Regions from separate parts of the Homo sapiens genome. Here region 2 is linked to region 1. The links are contacts of gene promoters, found by promoter capture Hi-C in human tissues and cell types (Jung and others, 2019). All regions are on one chromosome and are shown on one strand. Each heading gives the region's core, a stretch centred on a gene start or on the middle of the fragment in contact. The rest is flanking DNA. Distances are from core to core; before and after follow the strand shown. Region 1 holds the start of LIN9 (lin-9 DREAM MuvB core complex component). Region 2 overlaps ACBD3 (acyl-CoA binding domain containing 3).

Evidence for each region. The method cuts DNA at HindIII sites, captures the fragments that hold promoters and counts their contacts. A contact is called where the count stands out against the background at its distance.
Region 2: a contact is called between a fragment that was not itself captured here and the fragment with the promoter of LIN9 in region 1, in 1 of the 25 tissues and cell types used here (hippocampus).

Annotation. Positions count from the first base shown.
Region 1 is chr1:226,305,484-226,312,288 of GRCh38, reverse strand. LIN9 (lin-9 DREAM MuvB core complex component) reads left to right here and starts at 3,125. Exons shown (of 15, transcript NM_001366245.2): 1 at 3,125-3,180. The coding sequence starts at 3,150. RefSeq lists silencers at 2,773-3,022, 3,443-3,672 and an enhancer at 3,226-3,992. The HindIII fragment of the contact is 7,036 bases long and covers 1,501-6,805 here.
Region 2 is chr1:226,161,692-226,168,496 of GRCh38, reverse strand. ACBD3 (acyl-CoA binding domain containing 3) reads left to right here. Exons shown (of 8, transcript NM_022735.4): 2 at 2,497-2,638; 3 at 3,568-3,708. Among named protein-coding and RNA genes, the nearest start is that of ACBD3-AS1, 17 kb to the right of the region's middle. RefSeq lists an enhancer at 4,475-4,644. The HindIII fragment of the contact is 3,778 bases long and covers 2,484-6,261 here.

The DNA of each region.
Region 1 (6,805 bases), core at 1,876-4,375:
TGCTATGGTTTGAATGATGGTATTCCCTCCAAAATTCAGTTGTAACATAATCCCCAATGCAACAGTATTAAGTGGTGTGGCCTCTGGGAGGTGATTAAGTCATGAGGGTTCTGCTCTCGTGAATGGGGTTAGCACCCTTATGAAAGGGCTCAAGACTGAAGGAGGTGTTCTCTTGCCTTTCTGTCCCTTCTACCATGTGAGGACACAGCATGCATCCCCTCCAGAGGATGGAGCAACGAGCCACCATCTTGGAAACAGAGAGCTGCCCTCACCAGACACCAACATTGGCACCTTGATCTTGGACTTCCCAGCGTTTGAAACTGTGAGAAATAAATTCTTGTTGTCGGCTGGGCACGGTGGCTCATGCCTGTAATCCCAGCACTTTGGGAGGCTGAGGCAGGTAGATCACTTGAGATCAGGAGTTCAAGACCAGCCTGGCCAAACTGGTGAAACCCTGTCTCTACTAAGAACACAAAAATTAGCCAGGAGTGGTGGCAGGCACCTGTAATCCCAGCTACTCTGGAGGCAGAGGCAGGAGAATCGCTTGAACCCAGGAGGCAGAGGTTGCAGTGAGCCGAGATCACACCATTGTACTCCAGCGTGGGTGACAAGAGCAAAACTCCATCTCAAAAAAAAAAAAAAAAATTCTTGTTGTCTATAAATTACCCAGTCTCAGATGTTTTGTTATAGCAGCACAAATGGACAAAGACATACGTGTAATCCTCCCATCACAGAGGGAGTCACTGAGGCACCGAAAAGTGGGCTAGATTCCTGATTCTAGCACTTGCTTGCCATTGTCTTTGGACAAATTACCAGGTTGTTGGGAGAATCAAGTAAGCCAATCATTGTAAAACCTGTCATAAATATTCAATAACGAAACTTATTGAAGAGTTAGGTGTGCCTTGGCTTCGATCACACAGCTAAGCGCTAGATCTGGGGCTAGGATACAGCTTCAGGCTTTGGATTTATGAGAAGAGTCAAAGTTTTTGTTTAAAATGCAGATTATCAGGCAAGGGCCTAAAAACATTGATTTAAACAGTAGTTGTGTTGTTGCGTGTACATGAAAACTGCCTCAGAATAAAACCAGGTTTGCCTTGGTCTAATGACACCTTGACTATCATGACATTCACAAAGCTTTTGCTTCTCCCACTCTGGTAACCTCTCATGTTTTTTTAATTTCTATTCTTCCATTCTTAAAGGGCTGACCTTTTCTTGATCTCATCTCCAAATTGATACTGAAGTGCAAGCTGCTGAAGCACCCCCTAGGTGCTGACAACAAGGACCAGTGTTTTAATCTTCTTAGGGAGCAGATCAGAGTGTGTTTAGAAGGCAAAGGAGAGGTTAAGCTAGCTCTGAAGGAAGGATTACTTTGTAAAATTGAACTTTCACCCTCCCTGCTCACTCCCTGCTCTCCCTCCTACCTTAGCATGGCAGCACCCAGTTACCCAAGGCACAGAGCTGGCATCAGCAATGAGACTTCCTTCTCCTCACACCCAGTGACTCACCCAATCCTTTATTTTCCACGTCTTGAAAGGTGGAGTGCATGCTGCCACCTCTCTCTAATACTGCCTATGCTGTGGTAATGGTGGTAATAGTGGCTAGCTGATGGGTGCTAGCAGCTAGTATAAGGTCCTTACATCTATCAAATCGTTTAGCCCTCAAAATAACCCTGTTATTTGCATTTTACAGATAAGAAACTGAGGCACAGAGAATTCGGTTAAGAAACCAACGTGCCTGAGATTATACAACTAGCAGCCCATCTGGATTCTTCCCATCGAGGCCCTGGGGCTCCAGAGCCCACCCGCTGCACCTCTCTAGCTACCAGTGCAGGCATCTCTCTTCTGTCCTTTGCATGCCCCAAATAAGCTTCTTCCTGACTGGTTTCTAGGCTCTCATCTTGTCCCCCACCAATCCATTTCCCATATTTTTGTTCTAAAACACAAATAGAAACGTGCCCCTCTTACACCCGACTTTTCCACTGCTCCAGTGGACTAAGCAAGTTCAACTCCTTAGCCTGGGCGGGCCTCTGTGTACCACTCTGTCACCTTAGTCTACCGCCTTTTAACTTTGTAGTTCCTGGAATTCACCCACGTTGTCTTTTGACTGCTTAACGGTCTCATTCCTCCAACCCCCATAAATTCCTGGAGAAAAGGATTGGAGCTCAATGACATTCGTTAAATGAATTTTTGAAAAGCAACAGTGTTTTATTACTGGAAAGTGTTACAGACAGATATTGTGAAATTTTTCCTTGGGCTTCTTTCAATTTCGTTCAATTCTCGTCCAGTATTCTCATAACATTTGGATCAGGTACTTTATCACCTTGTAGTGTCACTGTTCCTTTCTGTATCCTCTCGAAGCCTCCTGTTACTCGTTTTCTAATTCTCTTCCAGCCCACTGCACGATCTAGTGTCGAATGGATGAAACAGCTGAGCAGAACAGTTCTTTAGCTGTCGGCCTAAATGACCAACTTCATGACCTCTCAAGGTCTCGCTCCCCGGCTGCACGCAGCTCAGCTTCCAACATTCGGGAAAGGCGTGCCCGGATCGCGAGGGGCCGCTGGGACCGAGTCCCGGACGTCGCGACGCGCAGGGGGCTGCTGCGGCCGGCGGTCTCGGGAAAAGTGAGGGGACGGAGGCGCCCAAGCAACGTGGGTTTCGGGAACTGTGAGTATTTCACTTTGCGTAGAGCCCCCTCGGGCAATGCGACCCAGAACCGAGGGCTTCTTTCCCCCCGCCGGGGCCTCCCTCCCGTTCTCCACTCGGAACAAACAGCCTGCAGTTCCCGCAGCTGCAGCGCGGGCCGCGGAACATGCGCCGGGAGCGGGGCCCGGGCGGGACTCCGGAGCTGGTACTGCTCCCCCCGCGCTCCGGCGCCGGGCCTCGCCGTGCGGCCTCCTTCCTCCCTTCCTCCCGCCCGGCTCGGCCGGAGGCGGCGGCGGAGGGGCGAGGCGCGGCCCCCCTTCGGCGGCACCTCCTCCCCGGGCAGGCGCGGGCGGAGCCGGGCCCGCCTCAGCCAGCCGCGGCGGGAGCAGCGCAGCGCGGCGCCGCGGGCAGCGAGCTCCGCATTCGAACCTCCCTCGCAAAGACAGTCTCCGCCCCACAATGCACCGCGGCGGGCAGCCTTTGAAAAAGCGGCGCGGCTCGTTCAAGATGGCGGAGCTCGACCAGTTGCCTGACGAGAGTGAGTAGCACCTCAAAGCACCCCCCCCTTTTCCCGCCTGCTGCTTGCCCAGCGGTTGCACCGGCCGGGACGGACGGCCGTGCCCTCCGCTGGGCAGGTGGGCTGACTGCCAGCCCCACTGTGGTCCCCTAGTCCTCCCACTCCGGTGTTGCCGCCGCGTCGCCGCCTTTGTTATGGTGTCTGTGTGTTGGTTTCTGGGGTTGTGTGAGCGCCAGGGCCGGAAACCGAGAGCCCGGGAGTCCAGCCTGTGCCAGGCGGAGGCGGTGGCTGCTCCCCTGGCGCCACTCCGGCCCCCAGCCGAGGTGGAGGGAAGAGCGGCCCCTGGGCGCGGGGGCTGTCCTCGCCGCCTGCACCACTCGCCCGGCGCCGAGAGACGCCCGCCGGGGTTATGTAACTCGCCTGTCCCGGGGCCGGGGGAGGGCTCGGGCTGGGCACGGGGTGGTCCACGGCCCCTTCTTCTTGCCCCAGCCTCTGATCTTGTCCTGTCACAGCTCCTGCCTCTACGGGCACTTGTGATCTTCACTGTCCTCCCCACCCCCCCACCGGTGTGTCCACCCCTGGAAGTGTTTCCGTGTCAGAGGGTTGGCCCCTTCCCCTGGGACCACAGGTGGCTGTGGACCTTTCCTGAGATCATCCAGCCCGGATACTCAGTGTTCAGGTAGACCCCGTCCCGCAGACTTTATTCTATATGTGTCTTAAGAGCCATAAAGGTACCTTTATGCATGGATGTGACCAACACAGCGTACGTGTACCCTGCCTGACACCCACCCTAGGGCATTGCCTCCCCTAACCATGTTTACTCACCCTGACATCTAAGACATGTATGCTCACTTGTGTTGAGTAAGTAAAAGCACCAATTCCATAGTTTAAGGGCAATGGAACTTAATTTTGTAATTTACAATATTGCATAAATTATATGAAAAGACAAATATGTTATTTAATTACAAAAAAAAGTCCTGAATCCACTTTCACTATTCAGTTTATACATATTTGTGAAAGGCTCAATTACTATTGAATCTTATCTATGCACAAGGCAAATGGACTTAAAAATGAGGACTCAACATACTACCGATTCCATTTTCTTTGTGAGGTCATGTGTTCTTAGTAAGTTATAAAGTTAAAAATTCAAGTTGCCAAGCTGGTGAAAAGTCGTATTAAAAGTGTTTGTGTTTTAAATTTGATAGAGAGCAGCACTAAGTCCCCAAGGAACTTTGTCCATGATAGAACTGTTCTCTTTTGTGATGTCCAGTAGGGCAGCCAAGCTACTAGCCATATGTAGCCATGGAACATTTCAAATGTGGCTAGAGTGATGGAGGAACTGAATTTTGAATTTTATTTAATTTTAACTTGCATAGTCACATGTAGCTAGTAGTCACTGTATTGGGTAGGGCACAGCTATTGACCAGTCATGAGCTGTACTGTTTATTTGTAGAATACAATTGATTGTGATTTATTTTATTTATTTATTTATTTTGAGATGGAGTTTCACTCATTGCCCAGGCTGGGGTGCAATGGTACTATCTCGGCTCATTGCAACCTCTGCCTCCCAGGTTCAAGCGATTCTCCTACCTCAGCCTCCCGAATAGCTGGGGTTACAGGCATGTGCCACCACGCCTGCCTAATTTTTTTGTATTTTTAGTAGAGATGGGGGTTTCTCCATGTTGGTCAGGCTGGTCTCGAACTCCCGACCTCAGGTGATCCACCCGCCTCGGCCTCCCAAAGTGCTGGGATTACAGGCGTGAGCCACCGCAGCTGGTCTTGATTGTGACTTAGAATGCTCCCAAATGAGTGTGGACCTACTAAGCACAGTGTACTTGTCATCCGAAAATGTTTTTCATCATCCTTGGTATCTTTATCATAAACATGTCTTATCACCTCTTGGATGTCACAATCACTAGAGCTACTGTTTTGGTTACTGTAGTCATTCTGTTGTAATGAGAGGCATTTTAAGTGGCTTTCTTACAACTGCCATTAGGAATATTTGCTTCATATCATCCAGCATTTATTGAGAATTTACTGTGGTTCTTTGTAGGGACTTGGGATTTATATTAGGGTTCAAATTCCAGCTCCACTTTCAAATTATATAACCTAATCATTTATATTACTTTGTGACATCTCTGGTGCATTGGTGTGTATTTGTGAAGCGTATGTCTTGTTTAGGTAGACTTCAGCTTTGTTGAAACCAGGGATTTTCTTTCTTTCTTTGTCATACAGTGCCACAAATCAAGTATACATAAATAATTTTTATGGAATTAGTGCAAAGTAACAGGTATTATTACTGAAACTAGAGCAGGGTCTTGAAAAGGAAAAGCGATTTCAATTTGATACTGGAAATAGCAGTATGTTTTTTGGCCACATTTAGTCAAGGAGGCTAGCTAATATATTGTTCAGGAGTCGATATAACATTATCAATAATGAAAGCTACCATTTATTGAGTATTTACTATGAACCAGATGCCATGCAAAGGATATTACATGTATTTGCTCATTTAATCTTCATTTCAGTTGATGTAAGTGCTCACATTTTATATAAGGAAATTAAGGCTATCTTCAGCCCAGATCTTTCCTGAGCTCCCTTTCTTGATATCTCTTGCCTGTTTCACATTTCTTCTTAGATGCTTCAAAGGCCCCTCAAACTGCACAGGTTTAAAATCCACCTCAGTCCTACCCCAGGACAGATACTTCTAGTGATTCGAATGGTTCCACTGTGCATTCAGCTGGCAGGGCAGAAACCTAGAGATTTTCTTTGGCACTTCCCTCTCTTTCTTTTCTTTTGTTTTTTTTTTGAGACAGAGTCTTGCTGTGTCACCTAGGCTGGAGTGCAGTGTGCGATCTCAGCTCACTGCAGCCTCCGCCTCCCGGGTTCAAGCCATTCTCCTGCCTCGGCCTCCTGAGTAGCTGGGTTTACAGGCGCCCGCCACCACACCTGGCTAATTCTTGTATTTTTAGTAGAGGCGGGGTTTCACCATGTTGGCTAGGCTGGTCTCAAACTCCTGACCTCAGGTGATGCACCCGCCTCAACCTCCCAAAGTGCTGGGATTACAGGGGTGAGCCACCGCGCCCCCAGCCACTTTCCTCCCTTTCACTTCCCATATTTAAGCCTTTACTAAGTCTGTAAATTTTACCTTCTAAATATCTATCAATTCTACCCATTTCTTACCATCAGCATAGCCCAAACTGTTACCATTTCTTCTCTTTACCAATTACCTCAGCCTCTCATTAATTCAGCCCCCTTCCCACAAACACACAGCGAGAGGGATCCTTTCAAAACGAATGTATGTCATCCTCCTGTTACAAACCCTTTAGTAGCTATAAGACCCTTTGTGGTCTGGCTGCTCCCTACCTCTCAGCTTTATGTTTTACCACTTGTCCCCTCATTCTATCCCTTGGGGTAAATTGGACCTTTTTCATTCCCGATACTCGCCAGTCTCCCCTTTTCTCCAGGGTCTTTGCACATGCTGTTCTCTCAACCTGGAATGCTACCCCCCCACACCCCCCTTACTTTCAGTTAACTTCTAATTGTCTTTTAGATCCCATTTTATGCTTCTTCAGAGAGCCATTTCCCATCCTCCCTGACTAAATTATGTCTTCTTTAAATCTGTTTTTTGTTTTTTAAAGAGACAGGG
Region 2 (6,805 bases), core at 3,123-5,622, 150 kb after region 1:
TTGATAACCTTTTAAGTTATTTCCAGTAACAAGAAAATAGTGCTGCAATGAATGTCCTTGTATCTGCCTCCTTTTATATATTTGAGAGTGCTTGTCAAGCATATGTAATGAGAACTGGAATGACTGGATCATAGGGCATACACATTTATAGTTTTGAAATACAGGAGTCTCTCCTTGTCCATGGTTTTGCTTTCCCTTCTTTCAGATACCCGGGGTTAATCAAGGTCTGAAAATAGGTGAGTAGAATACATTCAGATATTTTGAGAGAGACAGAGATCCCACATTCACATAACTTGTTGTTGTATATTGTTATATAATTACAATATACAAATATAATACAGTATTTTATTGTTAATCTCTTATTGTATCTAATTTATAAATTACAGGTATGTACATTTAGGAAAAACATAATATATGTAGGGTTCAATATTATCTGCAGTCTTAAACATCCACTGGGGGATAAGATAAGGACTATTGTGTATTGCCAAATTGACCTTCAAGGTAACTATAACAGTTTATACTTTCAGCATTCATATATGAGAATGGGTACCTGTTTGTAGGATCTTAATAACTTTAGATGTTATCTAACTTTTTTGTTTATCTGATGGGAGGTGGGGGTCTTGGTATCTAATGCTTTTAATTTATATTTCTTGACTAGTGGGGTTGAATATCTTTTTGGATGTTTATTGGCAGCTTCTATATTTTTTCTTCTCTGAGTTTCCTGCTGTTCTTTAACCCATATTCTTCTCACTTATTAGTGATTTTATTTCACCACTATATACATGAATGAGACATATAAGTAGCATATGCTACTTTCAAGTGCCCTCCCCGTTTTCTTTAAATTTGGTAGTCTGTTGTCATTGGAATCAACCAGTAGTTAGTGCTACCATTTATCAAAGAAGTGGAACTGTTCTCTGAATATTTCCCATTTTACCAGAACCCAATTTCATACGGCTTTTAAATGTTGGTAGCAGTTAGTCTTTATTGGTCAAACTGGTCGCACTCTTAATTGCCTATATGGAAACCTACCAGAGCCAATCAGGTGAAGGAAAGAAAAGCATTAATAAGTTAGTAATAATAATAATCCTATTACCTCTGAAGTAGCAACCTCTGAAGGGTAACCCTTTCTTTATTGATGAATAAACTGAGAGGTTAAATAGTCACATAGCTAGGAAGTGTCTCAGCTGAGATTTAAACCCAGGCCATCCAATTCCAAAGCCTTTTCCACCACATTATACTACCTTAGTGGGATGGATACATTTTTGAATACAGCCTTTCAAAGTGTACATAATCTTCTATGCATGATCATGTTAAAAGGGACTAATGTAAAATTATTTTAAGTTTTTCTTTTCTCTTTTGGCTAAAAATTATTTTTAAAAGCTATTTTAAAAACCGATTGTTGGGCTGGGCATGGTGGCTCACACCTGTAATCCCAGCACTTTGGGAGGCTGAGGCAGGAGGATTGCTTGAACCCAGGGTTCAAGACCAGTCTGGGCAACATTGTAAGACATCGTCTCTGCAAAAAGTAAAAAATTAACCAGATGTGGTGGCACATGCCTGTAGTCCCAGCTTCTCGGGAGGCTGAGGCAGAAGGATTGCTTAAGCCTGGGAGGTCAAGGCTGTAGCCTGACTGCAGCTTGACAGATGGGTTTTTCTGTAGTAGCTTTAGCATAAGTATTGATAGTTGGCTTATTTTTACAACCTAATTCAGGGTAGGCATGGTGGTCCACACTTGTAATGCCAGCACTTTGGGATACTGAGACGGGAGAATCACTTGAGCTCAGGAGTCCGAGACCAGCCTGGGCAACATAGTGAGACCTTGTCTCTACAAAAATAAAAACATTTTCCACGTATGATGGCGCATACTCCTGTAGTCCCAGGTAGTTGGGTGACTGAGGTGGGAGGATCACTTAAGCTCAGCAGGTTGAGGCTGCAGTGAGCTGTGATTGTGCCACTGCATTCCAGCCTGGGCAATAGAGCGAGACCTTGTCTCAAAAAAAAAAAAAAAAAAATCAGCATACCGGATTTCCGTCTTAGGTTCTGTTATTAATAAAATGTAGTAATTGGGCTGGGCATGCTGGCTCAAATCCCAGCAGTTTTGAAAAGGAGGCCAAGACGAGAGGCTTGCTTGAGCCCAAAAGTTCGAGACCAGCCTGGGCAGCCCTGTCTCTGCCAAAAGACAGGTTTGGTGGCACGCACGTGTAGTCCAGCTACTTGGGGGGCTGAGGTGGGAGGGTCATTTGAGTCCCGGAGGTCAAGGCTTCAGTGAGCCTTCATCACACCATTGCACTCCAGCCTGGGCAACAGAGTGAGACTCTGTCTAAAAATAAAAAAATTTTTTAAAAGTAGTAATTGAAATAAAAATTTCACTATTAGTGTTTGTGTCTATTACAGGCAGTTTGTGACATGCTTTGTAGCAAAGCTTTAGTATATAATGCTGAAAATTATGTATTTTGCCTGTGCTAATTGTTTTCTTTGTGTTTCTTTTTCTTATAGAAAAAGATGGCAAAGCATTTCATCCAACTTATGAAGAAAAATTGAAGCTTGTGGCACTGCATAAGCAAGTTCTTATGGGCCCATATAATCCAGACACTTGTCCTGAGGTTGGATTCTTTGATGTGTTGGGGAATGACAGGAGGTAACAGTGTTTTTCTGTATAGTGAATTTAATGAGGATAATGTTGGCAAAGGGTACAATGTGTATTGGTTAAGGTGTAAGTAGCTGGTTCATTAGCTTAGGATAAGAACTGAACATTTTTGCTTGCAGCTTCTGGAGTCTTCAGATATTTATCTGTTTTTAGCTTAGAGATGTTTATGGTTAAATATTGTGGAAGAACTGTATTCATCTGCTTATGAACATAAGACAAGTAGAGCTTCATTTGATTCTTCCCAAATAATATTAAAAGTAGCCATTTAAAATATATAGTAATTGATTCCCTTATTGAGGCATAAAAAAAATTGTGACAAAAAAAGAATACATTGAGTATTTTTGTTTAATTAAGGCTCAAATATTATATAAGAAAAATAGGCCAGGTGCGGCAGTTCATGCCTGTAATCCCGGCACTTTGGGAGGCCGAGGTGGGTAGATCATTTGAGGTCAGGAGTTCAAGACCAGCCTGGCCAACATAGTAAAACCCCATCTCTACTAAAAATTAAAAAATTAGCCGGCGGTAGTGGCACATGCCTGTAATCCTACCTACTCGGGAGGCTGAAGCAGGAGAATCGCTTGAGCCTGGGAGGCAGAGGTTCTGCTGAGCCAAGATCGCACCAGTGCACTCCAGTCTGGGCAACAGAGTGAGATCCTATCTCAAAAAAAAAAAGAAAAAAGAAAAATTGATACTCTTTTGCTATATGGGAATCATCAGCAATGCAGTTGTTTGGATTGTATGTGGCGTATCTAATTTAGTAAATCAATACATACTTGTTAAAACTTGAAGTTTTGAGCCTTTTGCTCCCAATAGAATCATTCATTTTACTTACAATTGAGAATTATTCATATTTAGGTTTAAATTTAAAAGTTCTCATTCTACTAAGAAGGGGAGGTAACTTTTCTTGTTATTCCTTACAGGAGAGAATGGGCAGCCCTGGGAAACATGTCTAAAGAGGATGCCATGGTGGAGTTTGTCAAGCTCTTAAATAGGTGTTGCCATCTCTTTTCAACATATGTTGCGTCCCACAAAATAGAGAAGGAAGAGCAAGAAAAAAAAAGGTGAAGTTTGAGGGCATGGAATACTTTATTGCTGCGCAGCCCAGTGTACTGATGCTTTTGTTTTGTAGAGTGTCTGTTCTAGTTCTAGATCAGGTGTCTTGCTTTCCTTGGATCCCCATTTCTTGTGGCAATTGTTCAAACTTCCTGATGTGAACAGGTACTTGTATTATAAGTTTTGGGGGGAGGGAGGACTGCTTCCTACTGGCCGTGCCTTTAAAAGGAACCTCCCATCCATCATGGCAGCCTTCCTTTTGTTTTATTACACTAAGTTTCTGAATAAGCCCCACCATAAACTCAACCACTCCCTCCTCCCTATCCTCTGGTCTGACATACCCTTTGTTGCAGTCTCCCTCGAGCTTCTAGAATCCTCATGCTCCATTTCATGGTTTGCAACTATGCTACCTTATATAGACATTCATGTTGGCTTTGGCTTCCAGCTGGCTTATTGATTATTTTCAAGTTTTGGAGGAGGAGCTACTGAATGTGCTGTTTATGCTTATGGGATTCTCTGTTGTAGTTGTGAATTAGAATTATAGTTACACCTTATTTTTCTAGTGGCTATATTTTCATCAATTTTGACTATCTAAAATTTTAGGTGATGAAAATGATGCTACAAAACCAATTTTTCTTCAGGTTATGTTATACTTTTTTTTTTTTTTTTTTTTTTTTTTTAAGATGGAGTCTTGCTCTGTTGCTATTGCTCAGGCCGGAGTGCAGTGACACAATCCTCTGCCTCCTGGGTTCAAGCAGTTCTCCTGCCTCAGCCTCCCGAGTAGCTGGGAGAGGGATTACAGGTGCCTGCCACCAACCCAGCTAATTTTTGTGTTTTTAGTAGAGATGAGGTTTTACTATGTTGGCCAGGCTGGTCTCAAACTCCTGACCTCAGGTGATCCACCCGCCTGGTCCTCCCAAAGTGCTGGGATTACAGGCATGAGCCACCTTGCCCAGCCGATGTTATTCTTTAAAAACAATTGATTCTCTGGTTTCCTACCTTAACCTGGATTAGAAATAACAGATTAGAAGAGAAAATAGCTTGATAATTAGGGACATAATAGAAAGCATGAAAAATAGACACGAGAATTATAAAAGCATGGCAGTCAGGGGTCATTTAATATGAAGGTAAACTTCTCCATTACAATAGTATGATGTACAATTTTTATGTTTACAGCTGTAACCCCTGAGTTATCAAGAGATGGAACATTAGATATGATTTATTCCTATTTAAGATAATAGGAAATTGCTTGATTACATTTTCAGAAGATATTTATCCAAAGAAATTTTTTTTTTTAATCTAAAGGAAAGGTTTTGATTCTTATGAGAAAAGAATGAGATTTCTTTAACTGGAAAATTGATTTATGTCCTACAGTCCATTGTGTAGTGATGTTGGATCAATCAGGTATCGCTAGGGTGTCTGTAGAAGTATCTATATATTGCTTTTTAAGTTCTTATTTTAATGATATATATGCATATTTCTCTTAAGCATTGTCAAAAGTTACTACTCAACATATAGAGCTGCGTTTTCGTTTTAAAAATATACTTTTGTCATGGGATAAAGTCCACATAGAATTATTTTAAAGTGTTTAAGAGTAGACTTCATCTATCCTGAAGCTTAAGCTCTGGCTTGTGAACCTTCTTGCTCTGTACCAGCTGTGACACATTAAAAGTAGGTCATGGCCGGGTGCAGTGGCTCACGCCTGTGGTGGCTCACATCTGTAATCTCAGCACTTGGGGAGAACGAGGCGGGCAGATCACTTGAGTCCAAGAGTTCAGGACCAGCCTGGGCAACGTGGCAAAACCCCATCTCTACAAAAAAAAAATACAAAAATTAGCCGGATGTGGTTACAGGTCCCTGTAATTCCAGCTACTCAGGAGGCTAAGGTGGGAGGATCATTTGAGCCTGGGAGGCGGAGGTTGCAGTGAGCCAAGAATGTGCCACTGCACTCCAGTCTGGGTGACAGAGTGAGACCCTGTCTCAAAAAAAAAAAAAAAATAGGTCATGTTATTACAATATTTTGAGACTTGGCTGTGGCTCAGGTAGTTGTTAATCACTTATAGGAGTTAGAGGGGAGAAAGGTGAGGTAGCCCAGACAATTCTCGTGGTAGGTTTATGAAATAGTGTCTTATCTGATACTCCTTAGAAATCTTCCCTTTCATCCTGTCTGCAGGCTCCCTGAACACCATACCACTCTCAGACCCGGAAGATGTCCATTCCTAGCACAATAGGATCTGTTCTTTTTGGAAGGGTCTTGTGGGGTGGGTGAAAGCTGGGCAAGGGCTGCCCTGAGAGGTTAACCGTTCTTTTTTAAATTAAAAGCTTTACAAAAAATTTTAATTTCAGAAATAATACACAAATATATGCAATATAAAATTTTCATTTATGGCAGTATATGAAACACAAACTGAAAAAAATCTTTTTTCCCACATTTCTTTTAATTCCACTCTCCTCTGCATAGATAATAACTGATAAATTTAGGGTATGTCCTTCCAGATCTTTTCCTTTGTATTCACCTTTTTTTTTTTCATTAAGCAAGTGTATTACATGTCTTTACATATTAGGCAATGTATTTCTATCCTTTGGCTCTGCGATATTTCAGGGTGGATTTTTTACTTCTGTACACGTTTGTCGAGTGCTTGTTCTTTCCAGCACTGTGCTAAGCCCTGAGGATGTCGTGGTGTGAGATAGGCAGTCTCTTCCCCTATGGAGCATCTAGTTTAATGGGTAATGCAGATCTATTGCTGAATGTATCACACAAATTTAATTATAATGACAGCAGGTATTATGAAGGAAAAGCTTTTAGTGCTGTGAGCATATATTAGAGGGGATCCTTCAGGGTATAGGAATATCATAATGACTTAAGTAGTTTCTTATGATGGACACATTTCTGTTGCTGTGCAACAATAATTATTCTTGATGTGATTTGTATATTGTGCGATTGATTCCCTATAAGTTTCTGCTAGTAAAGTGTATGTATTTTAAATTTTGATGTATATATCCACATTGTTCTCTAAAAAGGTCATGTCAGTTTTCCCTGGGAGCTAAAGTTTTATTTTTAAACAGGATTCAACGTATAGGGTTCATTCTCTATCTTTGCCTTGT